2 separate regions of the Homo sapiens genome follow, and region 2 is linked to region 1. Evidence: promoter capture Hi-C in human tissues and cell types (Jung and others, 2019). All regions are on one chromosome and are shown on one strand. Each heading gives the region's core, a stretch centred on a gene start or on the middle of the fragment in contact. The rest is flanking DNA. Distances are from core to core; before and after follow the strand shown. Region 1 holds the start of SEC24C (SEC24 homolog C, COPII component). Region 2 holds the start of MSS51 (MSS51 mitochondrial translational activator).

What was found. Contacts are between HindIII fragments. The study calls those that stand out against the background at their distance.
Region 2: a contact is called between the fragment with the promoter of MSS51 here and the fragment with the promoter of SEC24C in region 1, in 1 of the 25 tissues and cell types used here (thymus).

What each region holds. Positions count from the first base shown.
Region 1 is chr10:73,740,891-73,747,086 of GRCh38, forward strand. SEC24C (SEC24 homolog C, COPII component) reads left to right here and starts at 3,482. Exons shown (of 23, transcript NM_198597.3): 1 at 3,482-3,547; 2 at 5,915-6,114. The coding sequence starts at 5,943. LOC124902453 (a long non-coding RNA gene) reads right to left here and starts at 3,375. Exons shown (of 2, transcript XR_007062195.1): 1 at 3,327-3,375; 2 at 2,074-2,321. RefSeq lists enhancers at 23-590, 2,824-4,023, 2,863-3,430, 3,101-3,530, 3,431-3,997 and 1 more. The HindIII fragment of the contact is 12,749 bases long and covers 1-6,196 here.
Region 2 is chr10:73,432,071-73,437,712 of GRCh38, forward strand. It overlaps MSS51 (MSS51 mitochondrial translational activator), which reads right to left and starts at 1,491. Exons shown (of 7, transcript NM_001024593.2): 1 at 1,443-1,491. PPP3CB (protein phosphatase 3 catalytic subunit beta) reads right to left here. Exons shown (of 14, transcript NM_021132.4): 14 at 4,363-5,642. The HindIII fragment of the contact is 24,221 bases long and covers 1-5,642 here.

The DNA.
Region 1 (6,196 bases), core at 2,232-4,731:
TCTCGGTAGTTTCCCTGTACCCCTCTAGGTTTCTGGCTGGGGCGCCCACATCTGAGCTTCCAGCAGTGCTTCTGAGCAGCTGTAGTAAGCGTCCTCCCGGCTGGCTCGGGAGCTCACAGCGCTTCCCGGGATCCACTTGCTCGTCCTGGAGCTGCCGCAACTGTGGCCGTCCCATCCCTGGCCCTGGAGCCGCCCCATACCCCTTTTGAGAGTGAGACTCTCAAAAAACAAAAAAAAGAAAGAAACTATGAACTATGGTCCGGGCATGGTGGCTTATGCCTGTAATCCCAGCACTTTGGAAGGCCAAGGCGGGCAGATTGCTTGAGCCCAGGAGTTTGAGACCAGCCTGGGTAACATGGTGAAACCCCATCTCTACAAAAATACAAAACTTAGTTAGCTAAGAGTGGTGGCACATGCCTGTAGTCCCAGCTACTAGGGAGGCTGAGTGGGGAGGATCACTTGAGCCTGGGAGGCAGAGGGTGAAGTGAGCCAAGATCATGCTACTGCACTCCAGCCTGGGTGACAGAGACCTTGTCTCAAATAGAAAAAAAAAAAGGTGGGGGGAGGGGGAAGAAAGAAACTGAATCTAGGATCTACCACTTATCAGGGGTGCAACCTTTTTTTTAAGATGGAGTGTTGCCCTGTGTCCCAGGCTGGAGTGCAGTGGTGCAATCTTGGTTCACTGCAACCTCCGTCCCCTGGGTTCAAGCGATTCTCCTTCCTCAGCCTCCTGAGTAGTTGGGATTACAGGCATGTGCCACGACATCCAGCTAATTTTTGTATTTTTAGCAGAGACAGGGTTGGCCAGGCTGCTCTCAAACTCCTGACTTCAGGTGATCCGCCTGTCTCGGCCTCCCAAAGTGCTAGGATTACAGGCATGAGCCACCATGCCCGGCCCTAGTGGGTGCAACCTTAAGCAAGACAGAGGATATTTACTTTCCTATATCGATATGAGTCAAGTGGGATGAATCATGTGAAAATGCTTAGCAGAGGACCAGTTTAGGTCAGGTGCTCAACATATCTTAGTTGAATTTGGCAAATTATTCATCTAGACTAGTGGTTCTCAATCAGCAATGGAATCACCTGGAGGGCCTTAAACCATAGCTTGCTGGGCCCCACCTCCAGAATTTCTGGCTCTTATCTATGTAAAGCGGGTCTGAAATTTGCATTTCAAGCAAGTTTCCAGGTGTTACTGATACTGCTGATCTGAGGATCACACTTAACCACTGACTATAAACTGATAGGTCAGGTGTGGTGGCTTCACACCTGTAATCTCAGCAATTTGGAAGGCTAAGGTGGGAGGAATTTGAGACCACCCTGGGCAACACAGGGAGACCTCACCTCTACAAAAAATTAGCCAGATGTGGGGGCACATACCTGTAGCCCTAGCTACTCAACTACCCAGCTACTCCTACTGAGGTAGGAGGACCACTTGAGCCCAGCCTGAGCAACATAGCAAAATCGTCTCTAAAACAAAACAGGCTGGGCGCAGTGGCTCACACCTGTAATCCCAGCACTTTGGGAGGCCAAGGGGGGCGGATCACAACGTCAGGAGATCAAGACCATCCTGGCCAATATAGTGAAACCCTGTCTATACCAAACATACAAAGATTAGCTGGGGTGGTGGCGCATGCCTGTAATCCCAGCTACTCGGGAGTCTGAGGCATAAGAATCGCTTGAAACCAGGAGGCGGAAGTTGCAGTGAGCCAAGATTGGGCCACTGCACTCCGGCCTGGAGACAGAGCAAGACTGTCACAAAACAAAACAGAGGACAAGAACAATCTGCTTGTTTAGTAAAGCATGCTCAATGCCTAATATATAGTTTCCAGCACAGCCTAAAGTGCAAATTTTTCAGTGAATAAACCACTCTGTGCCTCAGAATAACTGATATTTACTGTCAATAATATGAGAACAAACACTTTTGTTCACTGCTCTATTTCCAGACCCAAGAACATGGCTTGGCACACAATGTCAGCGCTCAGTGGGTTCACCCTGCCTGCTGCCTTGACAAAGCTGATTTATCAAGACCAGGGAATTGCAATGGAGAAAGAGTAATTCACGCAGAGCCAGCTGTGTGGGAGACCAGAGTTTTATTATTACACAAATTAGTCTCCCTGAGCATTTGAGGATCAGAGTTCTTAAAGATAATTTGGCGAGTAGGAGCTTGGGAAGCGGGGAGTGCTGATTGGTCAGGTTGAAGACGGAATCACAGGGAGTCAAAGTGAGGTTTTCTTGCTGTTTTCTGTTCCTGGGTGGAATGGCAGAACTGATTGAGCCAGGTTACTGGTCTAGGTAGTCAGCTGATCCAATGAGTGCAGGGTCTGCAAAACATCTCAAGCACTAATCTTAGGTTTTACAATAGTTATGTTATTCCTAAAAGCAATTTGGGGAGGTTCAGACTCTTGGAGCGAGAGGCTGCATGTCCCCTAAACTGTAATTTGTAATCTTGTAGCTAATTTGTTAGTCCTGTAAAGACAGACTGGTCCCCAGGCAAGAAGGGGGTCTTTTCGGGAAGGGGCTATTATCAATTTTGTTTCAAACCATAAACTGAATTCCTCCCCAAAGTTAGTTCCACCTACACCCAGGAATGAATAAGGACAGCTTAAAGGTTAGAAGCAAGATGGAGTCGGTTAAGTCTGATTTCTTCCACTATCATAATTTCCTCAGTTGTAATTTTGCAAAGGCAGTTTCAACAGCAGTGCTCGAAAAATTATGAAATCAACAAATAGTACTGAAAAGTTCAAATGAAGTCATATATGAAAAAGAAATCCTAGCACTGTTAGCTATAATTACTTAGCCATTAAATGGGGTACTAATAATTACTGCAGGAACTATCTTTTCCAACAGAGCGCAGAGATCTTTTGGCTCTGATAAAGCTCTGCACCTAAACAAAGGCGCTGTATAAAAATGGTTAATAACAATTGACCTTTACTGAGTGCTTACTATGATGCCAAGCGGCCTATGTGGCCTAATTTCATCCTCTGGGCATTATTATTTCCATTTTACAAGCTGTAGAGCCAGACCTCAGACCCCCACATGCAGGTTGACAACAGTTGGTGCCCTTTACCACCACCACACGTTCCGCAAATCTCATAACCAGCAAACGCCATGGGTGAGAGCAACCTAGCGGACGGAAATCAACGGGGTCAGGGGTCACCAGGAAGTGACTACAAGACTCTAGCTCAGAGGTCACTAATACGTCACAGGCAGAGTGAAGGGGCATTATTAAAGATAGTTTGACAAATTCTTTTTAATCTCATTTCTGTTGGTGAGGCCATAAAGTGACTGGAACATCTGAAAAAAAATGTCAGGAGGGAAATACATACGACTCAGCAGAGGCGCACAGGCGGCGGCCATGATGGGAAGATGAAAGAGGCGCATGCGCGGCATCCGGGTCCCCGAAATGCAGACGTGGCAGAAGAAGTGGCCCGGCCCTAAAGCGTGGAGGAGGAACTTCCGGGGGTGACGGGACGGCCCCCTCGGAACCGGAAGTGGAGCCTGGGAGCCTTGACGTTAGGAACGAAGTCTAACCTGGATCTGGAGCCGGGTGAGGAGTGGCATCGGGAGGTTGGCGGGTAGGAAAGCAAAGGAGAGGTCAGGGTATTACTGGCCAGATTGGGGTCCGGTTTCAGAAAGAAGGGAGGAGCCTGGGGGCGGGGCCTGGGTAGAGACCCTCACCTCACGCATCCACCATCCAGGAGCAGGTCCTAGACCATCCCTTCGTCTCCCGGCCCAGATTCCGGCTCCTGCTTCCTGCCCCGAGCCTGTTAAAAGGTGCAAGACGTTTGGTCTCTGTGCTTAACAGAGCAGCCCCCTCTCTTAACGTGGCCCTAGAAGCCGACTTGGCTTCTCGGTTTTGATCCTCGGCTCTCCGAGGCTCCATGGCTTGACTACTTTCAGAGTTCTAGGAAGCTTGCCCCGCCCCCTTGGGTTGTCACCCTCGACTATCCACCCAGAATGGAGTCGAGACTTCAGTCTGACTCCAAGCTCTTGAATGTGTTTGAGGGGATTATTTTCTGGAGAAGAAGCTCCTTTCTTTACCCCTCCCCCCGGCTTTGGAAACATAAAGGGAGAGGACATATTTTAAACTTAGTGTCAGTGACCTACCTCTGTAAGGTTTAGGGTTTGGAAGAACAGCTATTGAGATAACTTTGAGTTTAAAGAGTTTTAGACCAGGATCAGCTCCTTTTCTATAGTCAAGGTGGCCCTTCTAGCAAAGGGGGAGAGGTCCATTGTTCCCTTTGCAGCAACTCTGAGTGCTCCTGCTTTCTGGGCCCCTTCTGTCTACAGGATAATTGGAATGATACAGCTGTTGAAAGTAGATGTGATGAGATAGTTTTCTTGGAAGGACCCTGTTTAGAAAAGGCCCTCTAATTCATCCCTGTGTTGATGAGCAAGATTGTAATAATTTTGATGGTGGCTGAGATTCATAACAATCGTAAGGGGAGCAGAAACAGGAGAGTTGGAGAAGTGCATTGGAATTTAGAATATTCATAGTCTTCTGCTTGAGGGATGAGGTGAATGATTTTTTTCCATGAAATCTAACTCTAACTTTGCCCCTGATTCTTGAACTGTTTCCTCAGATTATGTGAAGAAGTTTTGGTGCCTGTTCTGCACTTGGTTTTAATCTGTTACCTTGCTAGAGTTTTCAGGTGTCCTTTATTTTTTATTTTTTTGAAAGGGCGTCTTGCTCTATTGCTCAGGCTGGAGTGCAGTGGCACGATCTCGGCTTATTGCAATCTCCGCCTCCCGGGTTCAAGCGATTTCTCCTGCCTCAGCCTCCCAAGTAGCTGGGATTACAGGCGTGTGCCACCATGCCCGGCTAGTTTTTGTATTTTTAGTAGAGACTGGGTTTCACCGTGTTGGCCAGGCTGGTCATGAACTCCTGACCTCAAGTGATCTGCCCGACTTGGCCTTCCAAAGTGCTGGGATTACAGGCATGAGCCACTGTGCCTGGCCAACTTTTATTGATTTTAATGCTTCGGTTTTGGCCGGGCGTGGTGGCTCACACCTGTGATCCCAGCACTTTGGGAGGCCAAGGTGGGTGGATCACGAGGTCAGGAGATCGAGACCAGCCTGGCTAACAGGGTGAAAACCTGTCTCTACTAAAAATACAAAAACTAGCTGGGTGTGGTGGCACGCGCCTGTAATCCCAGCTACTCGGGAGGCTGAGGCAGGAGAATCGTTTGAACCCAGGAGGTGAAGGTTGCAGTGAGCCGAGATCGCGCCACTGCACTCCAGCCTGGCAACAGAGTGAGACTCCGTCTCAAAAAAAAAAAAAAAAAAAAAAAACCTTCAGTTTTAAGGTCCATACACTCTTTTGGTGGAAAGACTTGGGTTGGAGTATCATTTGTATTATGGCAGTTTAGCTAAAGAATGTCATTTCTGTAACTCAGCCTAAATTTTGTCATTGAGGGGGAAGGATTTTAGCAGATCTGTTTTAGATTTTTAGCCTGATTGATTTTAAATCAATTGTTCAGCACACTAGAGGGTACTCGATGTTTGCTGAATGAATGGATGCTAGAGTGAATGAATGGAAAGTGGGAACATTGTTTCTTTCACCTGTAACATCAAGGTAGTTCATCAGCCACAAGACTGTGTGACTAGACACTAGAAATCATACCACTGGGGAATGGAGGCTGCTGCTCCATTTCAGTGGATCTGTCTGAAGTTGAAATTTATACTATTTAGACAGTGACAAAGGGTGGATGGTCAGAATAACAAAATCCTTGCTTTTAGGAGATAATCTGAATGCTGGCTGGGGCAGAAAATTACTAAGATCCTGTGGAAGTGTGAGGATTATTAAACTGATCACTGTCTGATAAGGTCAATTTCTTTTTATCTCTACTTCCTGCCCTGAATAGTTGCTCTCTTTAGAAAGTTCATTTTGACTAATTTCTCCTCTCTCTCACAGGTGAGATCAAATTGGGAATGCTTTCATAATGAACGTCAACCAGTCAGTTCCACCTGTGCCACCATTTGGGCAGCCCCAGCCCATCTACCCAGGGTATCATCAGTCCAGCTATGGTGGGCAATCAGGGTCCACAGCCCCCGCCATTCCCTATGGAGCCTACAATGGCCCAGTACCAGGCTATCAGCAAACACCTCCCCAAGGTATGTTTCTGTTTCTGTTTCCTTTGAGCTAGGGAGGGAAATCAGCAGAGTCTTCAGGTTGGGTTGTATTGCTCTAGCTAAG
Region 2 (5,642 bases), core at 241-2,740, 310 kb before region 1:
CTCTGTCACCCAGGCTGGAGTGCAGTGGTGCGATCTTGGCTCACTGCAACCTCCACCTCCCGGGTTCAAGTGATTCTCCTGCCTCAGCCTCCTGAGTAGCTGGGATTACAGGCTCGCGCCACCATGCCCAGCTAATTTTTGTATTTTTAGTAGAGATGGGGTTTCACCATGTTGGTCAGGCTGGTCTCGAACTCCTGACCTCGTGATCCACCCACCTCGACCTCCCAAAGTGCTGGGATTACAGGCATGAGCCACGGCGCCCGGCCAAGACACCACTTTCTTAAACCTTGAAAGAATGACTTTTTTTTTTTTAAATAGGTATGGAAGGAAAGTGTGATTTGAGACAACTCTAGGGTCTTAAATCCCAGAATTTATAATAGATATCTCCCTGAAGTTAAAACATAAGCCTTTTTGCTGCAATGGAAGCAAGCCACTTAAGGTCAGAAAGGTACTGCTTTACTTTTCCGCATTTCCAAGGTGAGGTCTTCCTCTAAAGGAAGATTAGCTCTTGGCAATCTGGGAGTTGGCTGAACTGGTCAGAAAGCAAAAGGATCACACAGTTTGAGGAAGAGGAGTGGTGGTAAAAATCCCTAATGTCACAGTCTCCTCTGTGTCTAGAGCACAATGTTCATGATACAAATGAGTTAGCTTTCTGGCAGAAAAGAAAGAAGGTGGGTGAGAAGCCAGGTCTTTGATCTGCATCTATATACATCATCAGGTTCATGTTTGAGTTTATATACCCCAGGCCCAGACACAGCTTCCCTGGTTCTAAATCTCCTGTAAAGAGCCCCAGGCTACTCCCTGTTCACAGGTTATAAACTGAGAGAAACAAAGGAAAAAACAGGGGACTCACAGGAGAAGCTGGAAAGAATTGCAGTAAGCTCTTTGAACTTTCCAGAGTCTAGAATGCTCTCCACTTAGAAAGGGAATCCCTTTCATTTTTTTCTAGCCATCCCCAGTGACTTAGGCTCTAATTTAGTCCCAGTATAAGAGAGAGAACACCAACACCAAGAACTGGAGAGGAGACATGATCTTGATTGCCTAGAAAAACTTTTATCCTTCATGTCCAAATTCAAGACAAAATATTAATCTATTCCTAGACCTAGGTTTCCCATCTTCTTCTTTACCACCAAGAGTCCCAAGTTTCACCTAAACTACAGTCATATTTTCACTATCTCCAGATAAGGAGTGCTCATCTAATTTTCTGTAAGTCACCAAAAAATGCAAAACGTCTTTGGAGAGGTAGGGAGAAGGAAGACTGAAACTGGTCATTGGAGATCCTTATAAGGGGGTAGGAAAAGAGAAGGAGAAATACATTAAGGACACTGTAATTATGGCCACATTCAGCTGTTTAATCAGTGATTAACACTGCCTGGGGTGATAAATACTTTACTCAATTATAAACTAAGCAAGCAGACAGGTTGACGGAAAAAAAAACTTACCCTGCTAAGTCCTCAGCTTCCTTCCTTCTCTCTTTCCTCCAAGTGAAATGAGTGCTTGATCTCTTCAGATCTAGGTTGTGGCTTACTTGCAGCTGTCCCTTCATATCACTTTCCTTTGCAAACTGCTGAAATGCTGAGTCTCAGTGATTAAGTGTGCCCTGCCAACCAGACAGACAAGGCTGAATTCTCCCTAATGAGGCAAAGAGGGATCTGTCCCCCTGCCTGAGGGCTTCTCTCTAACCTTTGTTCTCTGCCAAGGGGGCTCAGGACTGTCAACACTCCCAAGTGTTAGCCAAGTAAAGGCCAGGCAGGCTGACAAAAAATGAAACCTGCTGCTTCCTAGACTTCTCTCACTCAAGGCAATATTTCTGTTCTCAGTTTACAGCTTCAGAAGAAAACCCTTTGGATTAGTGCAGAAGTCAATATTTGATTGGAAAGGGTAAGCACCTTTCCAACCAAGTGGGAGGAACCAGAGGACCCTCTGGAGTTCTGTTTGTTGATCTAGACACAGGATGAGTTCCCCCAGGCCTGGTGTCCTTTTTCAGCATAACAAACATTGTTCAAACAAAACTCAACAATGTCCAATCTTGGATTAAGTAGAAGGGAGAAAATAAATGGCCATTTAATGGTACAGAATGAAATCAGTTGTAGGGGAAACATGCAGAATTAACTTGTAAAATTCACTTTCCCTGAAAGAAGGGTAAGATAACTCTCTGAGTGAGAGAGTCATCAGGAGCACTTTACCTGTATTAAGAGAGGAATAAATGCTTCTGGGATATTAAACAAAACCAAAATACTAGTTAATGACTAAAAATACATACTATTTCTAGGAAAAGAAAATAGAAAAGAATCAGCTCAACCATTCTCTTATCCTCCTTGTAATTGCAGCTGATCCAGGAAATTCAATTCCACAGTCCTAGCTTCTTTCTACTTACAGCTAGCCTATCTGAAGTTGTTAGGGCAGTGGTCCTAAAAGACTGCAAGATCTTTCTTACCCTCAAAAAATTTTTTTAAAATTTTTAAATAAAAAAGTTCTGACTTTCTGCTTATATCTGACCCCAGCTCTCACTTACCTGCTTCTTTGAACATCATCAAACTGGGGAACAGAATCACTCGCAATGAGGTCCCGGAATGTGGCAAATCAAATCCACACAGGAACCCCAAACTGTAAAAAGTACAAACTACATGCAGGGAAGGTGGAAGAAAAGTGTTAAGGATTCAACCAAACACTGCATAACATTATGTAGAATAGCTGTGGATAAAGGAAAATCAGTTGCAATAGGCAAAAACCCTAAATAAAATAGGGGTAATTCACTTTGTGCAAAAGTTTCAGGCCAACTTCAAATTTAACAGGCTTCAAAATTTATCTGAGAACCTCAAATGTTTTGAGTTCTGTTAATAATGGCTGAACTGCAGAAGATACAAGACATCAGAGATTGACTTTTCTAATTCAGAAGTTGTCAATGAATATAAAGGAGAATAGTAATATAGAAAAACTTTGATGTTGAATACTTATATTTTACTATCACTATGACTTGCTCTGGTAAACATTTAAAGTTACGAAGTCTGAACTTTTCACAATTTGTATTCATCATGAGTTGCATTTAAAAAATCTTAATAAATGGTATGCTGTGAAATGAATTATGAAGAAAGACTAGAAAGAGGTTCCTATTCAACATGTAGGAAGTGGTCTGTGAGGCACTATGTGATACTTTATCACTCTTCAGGTATTTTGCTTTTCCTGAGTTTGGTTCCTTTCTCTTATTTTCCTCTTAATTTTTACCATCAATCCATAGTTTTTTTGCTAATACTACTTAATGCTCACCCATGATTCCCACAAACACTATATAATGCTAGTTATGTACCTAAGGGCTAGGAAAGTTCCTGGCACCTAATATACTAGTTAAACTCTTACTTACTTTTTAATTTTTCTATTGGGTCTATTTTAGCCAGATAAACTCTTTACTGAATAGCTTTCATAAAACAACATCGACAACAATCTTTAAGGTATGCAACTTTCATAAACAACATAGACAACAATCTTTAAGGTATGCAATGCATAATAACTTTAGAGCCAACTCATGGACTGCTTTGTAAGTTAATATTTTGGCAAGCAGAGAGTTATAATAATTAACAATTTGTGGCCGGGTGCAGTGGCTGACGCCTGAAATCCCAGCACTTTGGGAGGCTGAGGTGGGCGGATCACGAGGTCAGGAGTTTGAGACCAGCCTGGCCAACATGGTGAAACCCCATCTCTACTAAAAATACAAAAATTAGCCAGGCGTGGTGGTGGGCACCTGTAGTCCCAGGTACTTGGGAGGCCGAGGCAGGAGAATTGCTTGAACCCAGGAGGCGGAGGTTGCAGTGAGCCAAGAGCATGCCACTGCATTCCAGCCTGGGTGACAGACAGAGATTCCGTCTCAAAAAAAAAAAAAAAAAAGCAAAAGAAAAAGAAAAAAGAAACAATTTGAGAAGTTCTGTTTGTTACCTGGAATTAGGCAAGCATGTGTGTGTGTGTGTGTGTGTGTGTGTGTGTGTGTGTGTGTGTGTGCGCTTGCCTAATATATTTACATATATTTTGTTTGTTTTTAAGGGATGGGGTCTCACTCTGTCACCCAGGCTGGAGTACAGTGGTACAATCATAGCTCAACACAGCCTGCAACCATGAGCTCCTAGGCTCAAGCAATCCTCTGTCTCAGCCTCCCAAAGTGTTTGGATTACAGGCATGAGCCACTGTGCCCTGCCTATATTTTGACTTAGTGTTTTATAATATATCTCATTGTAATTATTGTTGAGAACTATAATTCAAGTTATTGTATGATTATATAATTTTGAGCAATATCCTAATATCCCTCAATGTGCAAAATCCTATACTTATTGTGATTATGACAAAGAAGAAAGGAATGATAGGAAAATGCAATTATCACTAATATTTTTCTTATTGTTAGAACACCCAGTAAATTCCCAATACCACTATAACAAAATTCTAGACAATAACATATTTTCTTTCAATTAAAAGACAATAAACAGTGATCTTAAATATTAGACTTAGGAGGCCTACAGTAGGCATTCAAAGTCCTCTAGTGCTCAGTTACTAATGCTCATGTAAAACAAGTATATAACAAAAGTTTTTTTTAAGGCAAAATTTATAAAGAATTTAATTAATCAAATTACCATGAACTATCCACGAGATAATCTCCGGAGGACATCCCAGCTCTAGTAACAGGATTTTCTGATTTGCATCAAAAGGACAAATCAGATTGCATCTTCCAAATAAAACCCAACACAGAGATAGGAGCAGCGGCCCATGCATGGAATTTATTGTGTGCTACTGTTTATAAAATACTCGAATAGTCCTGCACATGCATAATATTTCCAACTTAGACAGGAGACCATACAGGGTGCACTTTCTGGCAAACAAAACAATAGATGGTTCCGCTGCCTGGAGCTCTGAGTTGTATTCCAGGGCATGAGGGAAGCAGGCCACCAAAGTAAAGGGAAATACCAAACTACAGTGGCAATCAATACAGGTCAATAATTGTGAAAAATTAGCACATGGTTCCATTTAGTTTAACCAAGCAGTTCAGTAACTATCAAAAGAAAGGTTTCAACATGCAGTCTTGACTTTTATGCTTCCACTAACATCTGAATGATTGAACAGAACCATTGCTTCTAGGCTGCATTGCTTAATCAAAAACACTTCCAGAACATTTTAAAATTTCCTTTGCATTAAAACATAAAAATGATAGAAAGCCAGCAGCAAATCACCCTGGTGGCTCTCTAAGCAACTTGAGTACTCACAATAAACTAAAATTTCTCATAACATCTAGGTAACCTATACATGTCGTACCTGTACATCATAGGTCTATATATTAAATATTTGCAAAATGAAAACATGCATACACAAAATACGTCAAGTTTTACAGACATGATTTGAATTAAAATTTACTTTGACAATGTACAAACTTCTTTTAAAGTACCTTAAATGAGTAATTCTGTAATTCTTCATAATTTTGAAATTTAGAGGTTTTCTTCTTAAATCTCTGGGGTGTAAGTCTTAAAAGATCTGGGCAAAAAAGACTCTAAATTAGTTTTTGGATTTGTGTTCAAGTAAGAGAGCCTGCCTGGAAATAGGATATGCATTCATAATTAAAAAATACCAAGACTATGTTACAGAATTAGCCACATTTAAGAACTATA